Regions from separate parts of the Homo sapiens genome. Here all the other regions are linked to region 1. The links are contacts of gene promoters, found by promoter capture Hi-C in human tissues and cell types (Jung and others, 2019). All regions are on one chromosome and are shown on one strand. Each heading gives the region's core, a stretch centred on a gene start or on the middle of the fragment in contact. The rest is flanking DNA. Distances are from core to core; before and after follow the strand shown.

Region 1 (4,049 bases), core at 474-2,973:
CAGGGGAGGCACCATCCTCCTGAAGGCCTGAGGGGAAGGCTGGCTCTCCAGCATAGCTAGAATCCATCCAGGGCCCTAAACTGGCTGGCAGAAGGGGTTTCCCTCAGGGAAGAGGATCCAGGTCTATTGTCCTCTATTCTCTTCCTCAGGACCAGGGTCTAAATCCCGCCACTTTATTACCAGTTGTGTGGCCTTGGACAGAATAATACTCATTTCACAGGATTAGGTTATCAAGATGGCCAAAGGGGAAATGTTCCCTTTCTGCCATTTAAAGCAAGAAGGAAAACCTATGGCCATTCTCATTTCACTGTAAATGAGCACTCAGAGTGGAGATTCTGGACCTAGCAACTCCAGGCCTCAAAAACTAAGTCAAGCTGGGCGCAGTGGCTCACGCTTGTAATCCCAGTACTTTGGGAGGCCGAGGCGGGCGGATCACGAGGTCAGGAGATCAAGACCATGGTGAAACCCTGTCTCTACTAAAAATACAAAAAATTAGCCGGGCGTGGTGGCGGGCGCCTGTAGTCCCAGCTACTCGGAGAGGCTGAGGCAGGAGAATGGCGTGAACCCGGGAGGCGGAGCTTGCAGTGAGCAGAGATCGCACCACTGCACTCCAGCCTGGGCGACAGAGGGAGACTCCGTCTCAAGTCAAACCTCATAACCTACCACCAGTGCTCCTGGCACCAAAATCACAAGAAAACCTTGGGTGGAGCAACCATTTTCAGACTTAGGGACACAGGTTAGATAGTCGGCATGTAAAAATGTTAAATAAATATGTATCCCTTCGGGTTCTCTCCACCTCCAGCCGACACATCCTAAATAAATTCCACTAAGTGGTTGAGGGAATCTACTAAACCTTAGAAGCCCTCTTTTTTTTTGAAACGGAGCCTCACTTTGTTGCCCAGGCTGGAGTGCAGTGGCGCCATCTTGATTCACTGAAACCTCTGCCTCCTGGGTTCAAGCGATTCTTCTGCCTCAGCCTCCAGAGTAGCTGGGATTACAAGCGCGCACCACCACGCCCGGCTAATTTTGTATCTTTAGTGGAGATGGGATTTCGTCATGTTGGCTAGGTTGGTCTTGAACTCCTGGACCTCAAGCGATTCGCCTAAGAAGCCCTCTTTGAGGAAGAAGGAAGAAGTTTCCAGGGCCATTGGATTCCAATATCCAAGTAAGGTTGATCTAACTGAAGACAAGTGAACTCGAACCATAGGACAGCTCTGCACTAACCCTCCCACTAGGCTGGATTCTGCCTCTGTTCCATCCCAGCTCCCTTTCTCCTTTATGGACTCAATGAAGTGGTCAAGCAATTATAGATTTTGGCTTGGGACAAGCAAATTACTCAGGATGAAGAAATACTTTGGTGACCTTTAGTGCCCTCAGATCGCCCCTTGCCAACTGAGAACAGAGTACAATAAAACAACAGGGCATTAAGCAGGACCAAGCGCCACTCAGAGGCAAGTGCAGCTCCAAGGGCCCTCAGAGTAAGCTTCTGGGCCTCAGGCGGCCTTCGCTGGAATCCCCTAGTCCCCATTCCTGGTGGGCGGGTTCCATTGACACCTTTCCCGGCCACGCCGAGGGGGAGGAGGCGGGGCCTGGAGCCCCGGAGAGCCAATGTGGACGGCCGTGGTCACGCGCCGCCGTCGAGCAGGCCAATGGGCGCCGGGGGGCGTGTCCAGGGCCTCGGGCTCAGGGCGTTTATAACAACTTGGAATGCTGTGCTTTACTGCGCGCTCTGGTACTGCTGTGGCTCCCCGTCCTGGTGCGGGACCTGTGCCCCGCGCTTCAGCCCTCCCCGCACAGCCTACTGATTCCCCTGCCGCCCTTGCTCACCTCCTGCTCGCCATGGAGTCGCTGGTTTTCGCGCGGCGCTCCGGCCCCACTCCCTCGGCCGCAGAGCTAGCCCGGCCGCTGGCGGAAGGGCTGATCAAGTCGCCCAAGCCCCTAATGAAGAAGCAGGCGGTGAAGCGGCACCACCACAAGCACAACCTGCGGCACCGCTACGAGTTCCTGGAGACCCTGGGCAAAGGCACCTACGGGAAGGTGAAGAAGGCGCGGGAGAGCTCGGGGCGCCTGGTGAGTGCGGCTCCCTCTCGCGGCGCGGGGCGGGCTCCGGCTTGGCCGCCGGCAGGGAGCGGAGGAGGGCGGGCGGCGGCTCGCTCGTTGCTCGGCGGAGAGGCCAGCGTGGTCTTTACCGCGCTGAGCTTGCGGGGCTACTGCGGGGTGTCCCTGGCAGATGTGTCAGTCCGTGATTGCAGGGACAGTGGTCGCAAACTTGCGAACCCCAGCCAGCAACACCGTACTGCTGTGATGATTGCCAAATAAAAGGGAGGCTATGGATAGTTGGCGCGGAAAAACGAATCGTGTCGTGTCCTGGGATAAGATGGATGGGACTTAAGTTGAGTTTTGCTGGGAAAAGACTGTTCAATAGAGTGCAATGGAAAGAGGAAGTAGAAGGCACCCCATCTTAATAGGTATTTGGTAAATATGTGTGTGGTTGAATGAATGGATGAGGTGTGGATTTCCCCAACTCCAAGAATCTGGCAACCCAGCACACTGGAGCTCTGGCACGGGGTGGGTTTTGACATTTAGGTCCTTTCCAGCTCTAAAATTTAGTTGAAATTTCATTATGATGAGTTTTTGATTCTGGAAAATGTGAAACCAGGTCCACTGTACCAGAGACACCTTTCGGTTTGGGGGCCTTTTCAAGAACATGCCCTGTTACTTTGGTGCGAGCGTAGGAGTCTAGCAGTCTGTGTGACCTTGGGCAATTTCCTTCATCTCTGTACTTTGTTTCCCCTTTTGCAGAACTGTAGAAAACACAGCCTGCCTCACAAGCTGCTGTGAGGATTGAATAAGATCGAAATATGAACTTATATTGCTCCTAACACATAGAACTTGCGGTGAGATAGCCGGGCGCGGTGGCTCACGCCTGTAATCCCAGCACTGTGGGAGGCCGAGGCGGGCGGATCGTGAGGTCAGGAGATCGAGACCATCCTGGCTAACACAGTGAAACCCCGTCTCTACTAAAAATACAAAAAATTAGCCGGGCGTGGTGGCGGACGCCTGTAGTCCCAGCTACTCGGGAGGCTGAGGCAGGAGAATGGCCTGAACCCAGGAGGCGGAGCTTGCAGTGAGCCGAGATCGTGCCACTGCACTCCAGCCTGGGCAACAGAGCGAGACTCCGTCTCAAAAACAAAACAAAACAAAACAAAACGAAACAAACAAAAAAAGAACTTGCAGTGAGAATTTCTGGAAAGGGCAGCCCAGAAAGGATGGCAAATTTGTCAAAAGTTAGTTAGCAGTGGTTAACTGGTTCTCAAACTTGAGTTTAAAGTACGTAAGGATCACCTGGGATGTTTGTTTAAAATACTTACATTCTCTGGTTCCACACCCAGAGTAATTTATTCTGAAGGTCTAGGATAGGGCCATATAATGTATATTTTAACAAGCCTTTTAGAGCAGGTGGTTTAGGCATTATTATGTTTTGCCAAATCCAGTTGGGTGCTGGTTGTGAGGGGGTGTGTGTGTGTGTGTGTGTGTGTGTGTATGGTTTGCCCTATTGGCTACATCAGCAGTTACTTCCCCAGATTGTGTTTGCTTTTGCAGCCAGTAGCTGGTTTGAAATTCAAGAAGTCATTTCATTGGTGAAGGAGAGTGGATGTTGGAGAAAGGGGTAGATTATGGCCCCATCAATAGGACCGAGTATGTTTTTCCTGCTATCGCCTGGCACAGTCCCCAGTTGCCTGCTGCCAGGTTACAGCTATTGGGCAATCATGTACTTCCTGGCTTGCCTTTTCTTTCTCTTTCTGCAAAGTGTGAGGGCCCGGTGAGGCTCCAGGCTTGAGGCTGTTGGACCCAGGCTTTGTCAGGGGCTTAGCTGGAAAATAGCTGCTGGTGGCTTGTGCTTCGTGCCTCTTGGGGGTGGAGACACTGGGTCGTGGGGACTGGGGTGGCCCAGAGACTGAGAAACTGAGATTGAAGTTCAGAGTTCCCATCAGGCTCTTGACCCAGGTCACTGTGGGGTGTGTGTGTGGATGTGCATGAGAGAGAGA
Region 2 (4,049 bases), core at 637-3,136, 57 kb after region 1:
ACTGCTCTTCAACTCCTCATCTCAGGGGATCCACCCGCCTCAGCCTCCCAAAGTGCTGGGATTACAAGCATGAGTCACCGCGCCCGGCCCAAAATTATGTTTTATAGGCAACACATGGCCTTTGATGTTACAGAACTTTTTTTTTTTTTTTTTTTTTGAGACAGAGTCTCGCTCTGTCGCCCAGGCTGCAGTGCAGTGGCGCAATCTTGGCTCACTGCAAGCTCCGCCTCCGGGGTTCACGCCATTCTCCTGCCTCGGCCTCCCGAGTAGCTGGGACTACAGGCGCCTGCCACCATGCCCGGCTAATTTTTTGTATTTTTAGTAGAGATGGGGTTTCACCGTGTTAGCCAGGATGGTCGCGATCTCCTGACCTCATGATCCGCCCGCCTCAGCCTCCCAAAGTGCTGGGATTACAGGCTTGAGCCACCACGCCCAGCCCAGAACCTGTCTCTCTTATAAAGCTGCTGCCCTTTCCACAGATGCCCAGCTCTCTTTCACTGTCTTCTTGGGAGAAAGAATATCTAGAAAATGGGTTCTGGGGCCAGGTGCAGTGCCTCATGCCTGTAATCCCAGCACTTTGGGAGGCTGAGGCGGGTGGATCATGAGGTCAGGGGTTCGAGACCAGCCTAACCAACATGGTGAAACCCTGTCTCTACTAAAAATACAAAAATTAGCTGGGCGTGGTGGCGGACGCCTGTAATCCCAGCTACTGAGGAGGCTGAGGCAGGAGAATTTCTTGAACTGGGAGGCAGAGGTTGCAGTGAGCCGAGATCACGCCACTGCACACCAGCCTGGGCGACAGAGCGAGACTCCGTCTCAAAAAAAAAAAAAAAAGAAAAGAAAATGGGTTCTGAGTCTGGCTGCATCACTGCCATTTGCTCATCTTTGTAACAGGGACAGAGTCTGTCCCAACTACTTAGGGGGAGAGTGGGAGGAGCTAATAAGAAATGGATGTGAAATGCTGTGAAAAGCAAAAGTGTTTTAGGACTATACAGGAGTGTAAAATAGCAAAGTCTCCACCTGCCGTGGCTCCTTCCTAGCAGCTTGGCTCTCTCCTCCCTTGATTTGGCATCTTTCTGGCTTACAAATGGAAAAGCGGAGTTGAAGCTGGCTGTGAAATCCCCATTAATGAGAGGAGAAGAAACACTCCTGGGAAAAACAGCTGGGGCCTGATGGTGGGTGCAGAGGCCTGGGCTGAAGCCCTGGCCCCCTCGTCCACCCCTCTTCTCTACCCTAGGACCCAGACTTGAGCCTAACAGTCCTGCAGCAGGACACCAGCTCCTTCCGTCCCTCCACAGAGGCCTGGACACCTCCTTGGTGACATGAAGGTCTGCAATGCCTGGATTGAGCGGGTCAGTCTCCAGTCACAGAACATATCCCCATTTTATTCTCTTCCCTGTGGAGGACTCAGTTCCACTGGCTTCCAGAAAGGTGGCATATTTTCCCTATGGCCTCTGGGCTCTTCTCTTTTTCTCAAATTCTAAATGTTTTGGACAAAGGATAAGGATAACAATTATAGTTAGCCTTCTGTATCTGAGAATTCCACATCCATGGATTCAACCAACCATGGATTAAAATAATAATAATACAAATTTTAAAATACAGGGGCCAGGCGCAGTGGCTCACACCTGTAATCCCAGCACTTTGGGAGGCCAAGGCGGGCGGATCACCTGAGGTTAGGAGTTGGAGACCAGCCTGGCCAACATGGTGAAACCCTGTCTCTACTAACAATACAAAAATTAGCTGGGTGTGGGATGTGGTGGCGGGCACCCGTAGTCCCAGCTACTCGGGAGGCTGAGGCGGGAGAATGGCGCGAACCTGGGAGGCGGAGCTTGCAGTGAACCGAGATCACGCCACTGCACTGCAGCCTGGGCAACAGAGCGAGACTCCGTCCCAAAAAAAAAAAACAAAATTAACTGAGTGTGGTGGCATGTTCCGGTTGTTCCAGCTACTCAGGAGGCTGAGGCAGAAGAATCACTTGAACCTGGGAGGCGGAAGTTGCAGTGAGCCAAGACTGCACCACTGCACTCCAGCCTGGGTGACAGAGACTCCGTCTCAAAAACAAAAACAAAAAACAAAAAACAAGAAACAACAGTGTCACACTATTTTCTATTTTCATAGTATTTACATTGTACTAGGTATTGTACGTAATCTAGAGATGATTTAAAGGGAGGATGTGTGCAGGTTCTATGCAAATACTACACTATTTACTGTATGAGACTTAAGCAATCTGGAACTTTGGTATCTGCAGGGGGTCTTGGAACCAATCTCCTTCAAACACTAACATTTCTTGACATACGTCAGACTTGTCTCTCAGTGTTTACACCTATTAATTCATTTAATCCCAGTATTAACCTCACAAGATGGGTAGCACTATTATTTCCATTTTACAGGAGAGAAAACCAAGGCCTACAGATGTAACTTGCCCAGGACTACACCACTAGTAAGTAAAGAACCTAGAATATAAATCCTGTCTGGCTCCAAAACTCAGGGCCTAACCTCACCTTGGAGGGCTGGGTAGCTCTGACAGATCCACAGCTTAAGACACCTTTGGCTGGGAGAGCTGGCCCTCTGCCACCTTTTTAGGAAGCAAGAGTCTAATCAGTGGTTATCAACCACAGCCCAGCCTCACTCCACAGCGATGAAACTGGAATTTCATATAGCTAAGACTGCAGGCTTTTTTTGTTTTTTGTTGAGTCAGAATCACTCTGCTGCCCAGGCTGGAGTGCTGGAGTGCTGGAGTGCAGTAAGGTAATCATGGTTCACTGCAGCCTTGACCTCCCCAGGCTCAAATCCTCCCACCTCAGCCTCCCCAGTAGCAGGGACTACAGGTACATGCCACCACACCTGGCTAATTTGTGTATTTTTTTGTAGAGAAAGGGTTTTGCCATGTTGCCCAGGCTGGTCTCAAACTCCTGGGCTTAAGCAATCCTCTTGCCTTGGCCTCCTAAAGTGCTGGGATTACAGGCCTGAGCCAAGCTGCACTCGGCCAGACTGTGGGTTTTTACACCCTGAGAGAGCAAGGAAAAAGAAAGGAGTTCTCCCCAGCCCCGTCCTGCCTTCTCCATATCTGAGGGCGTGCAAATCCTTAGAAAGGTCCAAATATTGGCCATAGCATTTAAAATCACCTCTGAAGACATCACGGTGGCATCTCCAGCCTTCCTCACTGGAGGTAACCCTTAATCTCACTGGTCTCCATGCAGACTCCACTTGCCCACCCAGCCCCGTCTCGTGCTTAGGGGTGTGTGTGTGTGTACCTGCATGCATGTGGGCAAACCTCAGAACAAGAGAGAGAAGAGGTTTGTGTGTGTTGCGGGAGGCGGTGGGGGGTGCTTGAGGGAACACTCTGTGGGAGATACCAAGATCCTGTTTGTGGTTTTTGCATTCGAGGCTGGAACACCTCGGCAACCACTTCCATCTGAATTAACTCCCTTCAATAACTCCCCCTGCCAACCAGAGACTTTTACTACGGACTCACCACGAGATCCTAGTTGAGACTGAGCTCATTCCTGCTTGTAGCCTGGAGCCCAACCTCAGGAAAGCATCTAAGAGCTTCTCCCCACCACCAGCCTCCTCCTTAGATCCTGCAGTCCCCAACTCCACCCATCAGGGATGCAAAGAAGGACACGGGGATGTAGGCAGAGTTTGCCTGGAGCCCCAGCCTGCACTGAGACACTCCTCAAATCAAGAATGGGGTAGCCTCCCTCTGGGGCAAACCTCACATTTATCTCACTTGGATCTGCCTTCTTCACACACAAGCTGACCAAACCCAGGAAAGGTTATTTCAAAGTTTGGAGAACAAGGGAAACACCCTGCATGTTAACAGGAAATAGCAGACATCCCCCCATCCTTCCCCTCCAGGATCTTTAGTCCCTGCCCCCATCCCTGGAGGAAACCCAAGACCTCCAGATCCCTGAGAGGCTGAGCTGTCTAGTTACAACTCTGAGAAGCAGAGTCGGAGCTGGCTGGGAAATCCCCAGGAATGAGAGAAGAGACACTCCTGGGCCTGGTGTGTGGAGGGGCCTTGGGCTGGGATCCTGGTCCTCTTG
Region 3 (4,049 bases), core at 1,109-3,608, 40 kb before region 1:
CTTCATTTAAGTTGGACAAGAGGATTAATAAAAGAAATTTAAACTGTGAAAGTTGCTACTTAAGATTTTTTTTACATTATTTTCCAATCAAACTAGTTAACAAATCTTTTCATATGTACACAGGCAGCTGTGCTTTCACAGTATAACTTGTTTGTGTAAATACAAGCATTTAATTTTTACAGTTCACATTTAGATGATGGAAAATAAACATGTGGAAGCTATGAAAATTATGACAGAACTTTTTCTTACTGCTCTGTTCCTGGTTATACCATCTTTTAGTCAATCACATATCTACCTAAGATATCTTCATAGAATTCCACTCAAAGGATGTGAAGATAATATAAATACCCCCTACTGAGTTTGGCTATCAAAGCCAGAATTGGTTTAACTCTGAGTGTCGTCTAGTTTTGGTTTTTAATTCTGAGGATTGTGTTTTGACAACTGAGAACTCTATTTTTTGGCTTTGAAATGATATGTGGGATTGCACAGCTGTTACTTCCCTAAATGTATACCTAGTCCCATGACGTTTTCAGGGAATACCCTTGTATAACTTAAGGTGCTAGAATTAAGGATGGTCTGTGGTCACACACTAAAGTTGCTAATCATCCAACCTTACTAGTATAAGTCACATTAATTAAAAGCTTATTATAGGCTGGGTGCGCTGGCTCACGCCTGTAATCTCAGCACTTTGGGAGGCTAAGGCGGGAGGATCACTGGAGCCCAGGAGATTGAGACCAGCCTAGGCAACATAAAAAAAATAATAATAAAGCTTATATGCCTGGAATTGTGCTAAGTATTTTACACACATTATTTCATTTAATCCTCTCAACAGTCCTGTGAAATAGGTACTATAATAATCCGATTTTACAGATGAAGAAACTGAGACTCAGAAAGTTGATTTATTCAGGGTCAAGCAGAGAACTAGGATATGAACCCATATCTATCTGATGCTCAAGGCTTTGCTCTTTAAAAAGAAACACAGCTTTGTCGAGAAATAATTCACACACCACACAATTCAGCCATTTAAAATGTACAATTCAATGGCTTTTGCCAAATGGATTTGTGCAACCCTCACCACAATCAATTTTAGAACATTTTATCAGCCCTAAAAGAAATCCTGTCAACTGATGAATAGATAAATAAAACATGGAATATTCATACAATGAAATATTGTTAGGCAAAAAAGAAAGTACTGATACATGCTACAACGTATCTATTTTTTCCTTTTGTTGCTTGCGCTTTCCTGTCATATCTAAGAAAACATTGCCTACTCCAAGGTCATTAAGATTTATGCTTATGTTTTCTCCGGAGAGTTGTATAGTTTTAGCTCTTACATTTAGGTCTTTGAAGCTCTTTCTCGAAACCACTATGCTTTACTGTTTTGTGTGTGCATAAAGACACAAATACAGTCATAACCCATGGATGAGAGAGAAGCATGAAACGCCTGAGTAATTGGCATTTGGGGTTATCTCTGGATTTTAATGATCTGTTTTTCTCCTGCTCCAACTATGCTTGTAATTAAGAGTCAAATCACTTGATCATGTCCTGAATATATTCTAAAATCTCGCTTTGCAAAAACATCTTACATTCCCATTTCCATGACCCTAATTTAGGTCCTCATCTTCTCACCAGTAGGCTATTTTGATAATCTTCTAAGTAGGCCAAGTTCTTCTCTGATGAAATGCACCTCCCTTTATTGAAATCAATTGCTTGTTAATTTATTCATAAGCTTCACTAAGAGAGGAACTATACATTTCTTTTTCACCATCATGCCCCTGGTGTTTAGCATTGTGTCTGGCACATAGTGGGTGCCCCACAAATAATCACAAAGGAAGACTATGTGATCTCCTTATCATGAAACTCTTCTCCTGGACTAAACACTGTTTATGCTGCTGCCAGATTAATATTCCAAACACTGCTCTGATCACTTCACTTCTTGGCTCAAAAACTTTCAAGGTCTCTCTACTGCCTTCTGAGAAGCGCCGCTCTTTTTTTTTTTTTTTTTTTAAGAGACATGGTCTCACTCTATCTCCCAGGTTAGAATGCAATGATGTGTGATCATAGCTCACTGCAGCCTTGAACTCCTGGGCTCAAGTGATCCTCTTGCCTCAGCCTCCTGAGCAGCTAGGACTACACGCACATTTAACTGTCCCTGGCTAATTTTTTTTGATAGAGATTGGGGGTGGGAGGTGTTGCAGGTGTCTCACTATGGTGCCCAGGCTTGTCTAAAACTCCTGGCTTCAAGCATTTTCCTGCCTCAGTCTCCCAAGAGCTGGGATTACAGGTGTCAACCACTGTGCCTAGTCCTCTGACATGACATCCAAGCAAGGGCTGCCATTCCCAGTTCCTTTCAGAACTCACAAGGCAACTTTGGAGTTGGGCAGGCTGCAGGAAACTCCAAGTATGAGAGTGGTCATTTGCTCTTGTCATGAGGTTGCCAGATTCAGGAAATAAAAATGTTGGGCCGGGCGTGGTGGCTCATGCTTGTAATCCCAGCACTTTGGAAGGCTGAGGTGGGAGGTTCAATCGAGTCCAGGAGTTCAAGACCAGCCTGGGCAACAAAGTGAGATCCCAACTCTACCAAAAACAAAGAGAAATTTCTAGGAATAATAGACGGGGTAAAAAATAGACAGTGGGTAAAAGATACTCACTTAAATCTTAATTTTAAACAACAAATCGTTTTTTGGGATATCCTAAATATTCAGATTTAACTGGGCATCCTCTGTTGTATCTGGTAGCCCTACAGTTAGTCTCAACCACATTCCAGTCTGCAACATCGATGCACTGTATCTTCTTGGAATGCCCCCGACTCATTTTGACCCAAATCTGACACCTCTTCAAAGGCCCTGCTCAAAGACCCTCTCTCCCACAAGGTCTTCTCTGGCATCCTCTGATAGTTATGATTACTTCTTCCTCTCCACTCCCAAAGCGCAAAGAGCAGACCCATTGTGTGTCCCGTAACACATGCTTCCTTCCACTCTGCAGAGGCTAGCCTTGTGTCTTAACCCTGCCTGAGCCTGGAAGCTTCCTGAGCACCAGACCAATGTGCTCTGCCAGCTCATGCTGCGTACTCAGGAGGTGCCATTAGCTGGTTGTTAAATGAATATGTAAGACTCGATTGTCCTAAATCAGAACTACTTTCTATTTTTATTTTCACAGTGGACTTTTCTCCCTAAAGTTCTAGGATCAGTGGGACATGGGCATCACAGGCAAATTACGTGGCTTCTAAGAGACTGAATCTGAAATCTTCTAATTTAGGAGAAAGGAAGGAAATGTGAATCTTTTTCTTCTCTGAACAAGGAAATAAGAATTTGTTAAAAAAAAAAAGATTGAGCATTGACAATTACTGATTACAAAATAAAATAATATTATAGTTTTAAATAAAAACATCTCCATGTGAACAAACTTCGCTTTGTATTTTAGTATCTGTTTGAGTAGGTTTGTACTGCAAAGCGGAAAAATGAAATCTCCCAGGCACCATTTGCCAAGGGATTTGCTCCCCTTCTTTGTCTGTTCAGATTAATCCGAGAGTGGCTGAGAGCTGCCCATTTTATCTCTGGGTTGAGGCAAAAGGGAGCAGTGTTTTCCAAAATAGCCCATGAGATGGCTGGACTCCCTCAGACAGGATTTGGGGGAGGACAAAGGAACCATGTGGGCATTTTATGTAGAGTATCTGGACCGGGTGCCCTGTCATTTGGAAGGCATCTGTTCCTGCCATTTGCACATCTTCCGGTAATCCTCCATTGATCGCCACCCCGCGTTCCTTCCTGCCCACTTGTGCCGGCCCTCCCCGCAGTGCCCTCTGACGTGAGGCCCTTCTTTCACTGCTCTAATTCAATGGCTTCTAATTGGATGCTCTGCCTGGCTAATGGCTTCTACCCAACTGCAGGGCTGACATTTACTTATTTGATTTCCACCCCTCCCTCTGCTCTCTGGCCTCCTTTGTGAGCAGAGCTTAAATTAGGCAGGATTTTAGATCCAGCACCTTTTTATATTTTGGTGTGGGCCTCTTGTTTTTTGAGCTGGGAGGGGTGGCTGAGTAGAGAAGA

Evidence for each region. Contacts are between HindIII fragments. The study calls those that stand out against the background at their distance.
Region 2: a contact is called between a fragment that was not itself captured here and the fragment with the promoter of NUAK2 in region 1, in 2 of the 25 tissues and cell types used here (hippocampus and neural progenitor cells).
Region 3: a fragment that was not itself captured here is called in contact with the fragment with the promoter of NUAK2 in region 1 in 2 of the 25 tissues and cell types used here (neural progenitor cells and ovary).

Annotation. Positions count from the first base shown.
Region 1 is chr1:205,319,419-205,323,467 of GRCh38, reverse strand. It overlaps NUAK2 (NUAK family kinase 2), which reads left to right and starts at 1,723. Exons shown (of 7, transcript NM_030952.3): 1 at 1,723-2,070. The coding sequence starts at 1,840. RefSeq lists a silencer at 2,037-2,216. The HindIII fragment of the contact is 16,843 bases long and covers 1-4,049 here.
Region 2 is chr1:205,262,349-205,266,397 of GRCh38, reverse strand. The region is part of intron 2 of TMCC2 (transmembrane and coiled-coil domain family 2); the gene reads right to left. Among named protein-coding and RNA genes, the nearest start is that of TMCC2-AS1, 27 kb to the right of the region's middle. RefSeq lists an enhancer at 2,436-3,133. The HindIII fragment of the contact is 8,685 bases long and covers 1-4,049 here.
Region 3 is chr1:205,360,056-205,364,104 of GRCh38, reverse strand. No RefSeq gene overlaps it. Among named protein-coding and RNA genes, the nearest start is that of KLHDC8A, 5.2 kb to the right of the region's middle. The HindIII fragment of the contact is 3,306 bases long and covers 706-4,011 here.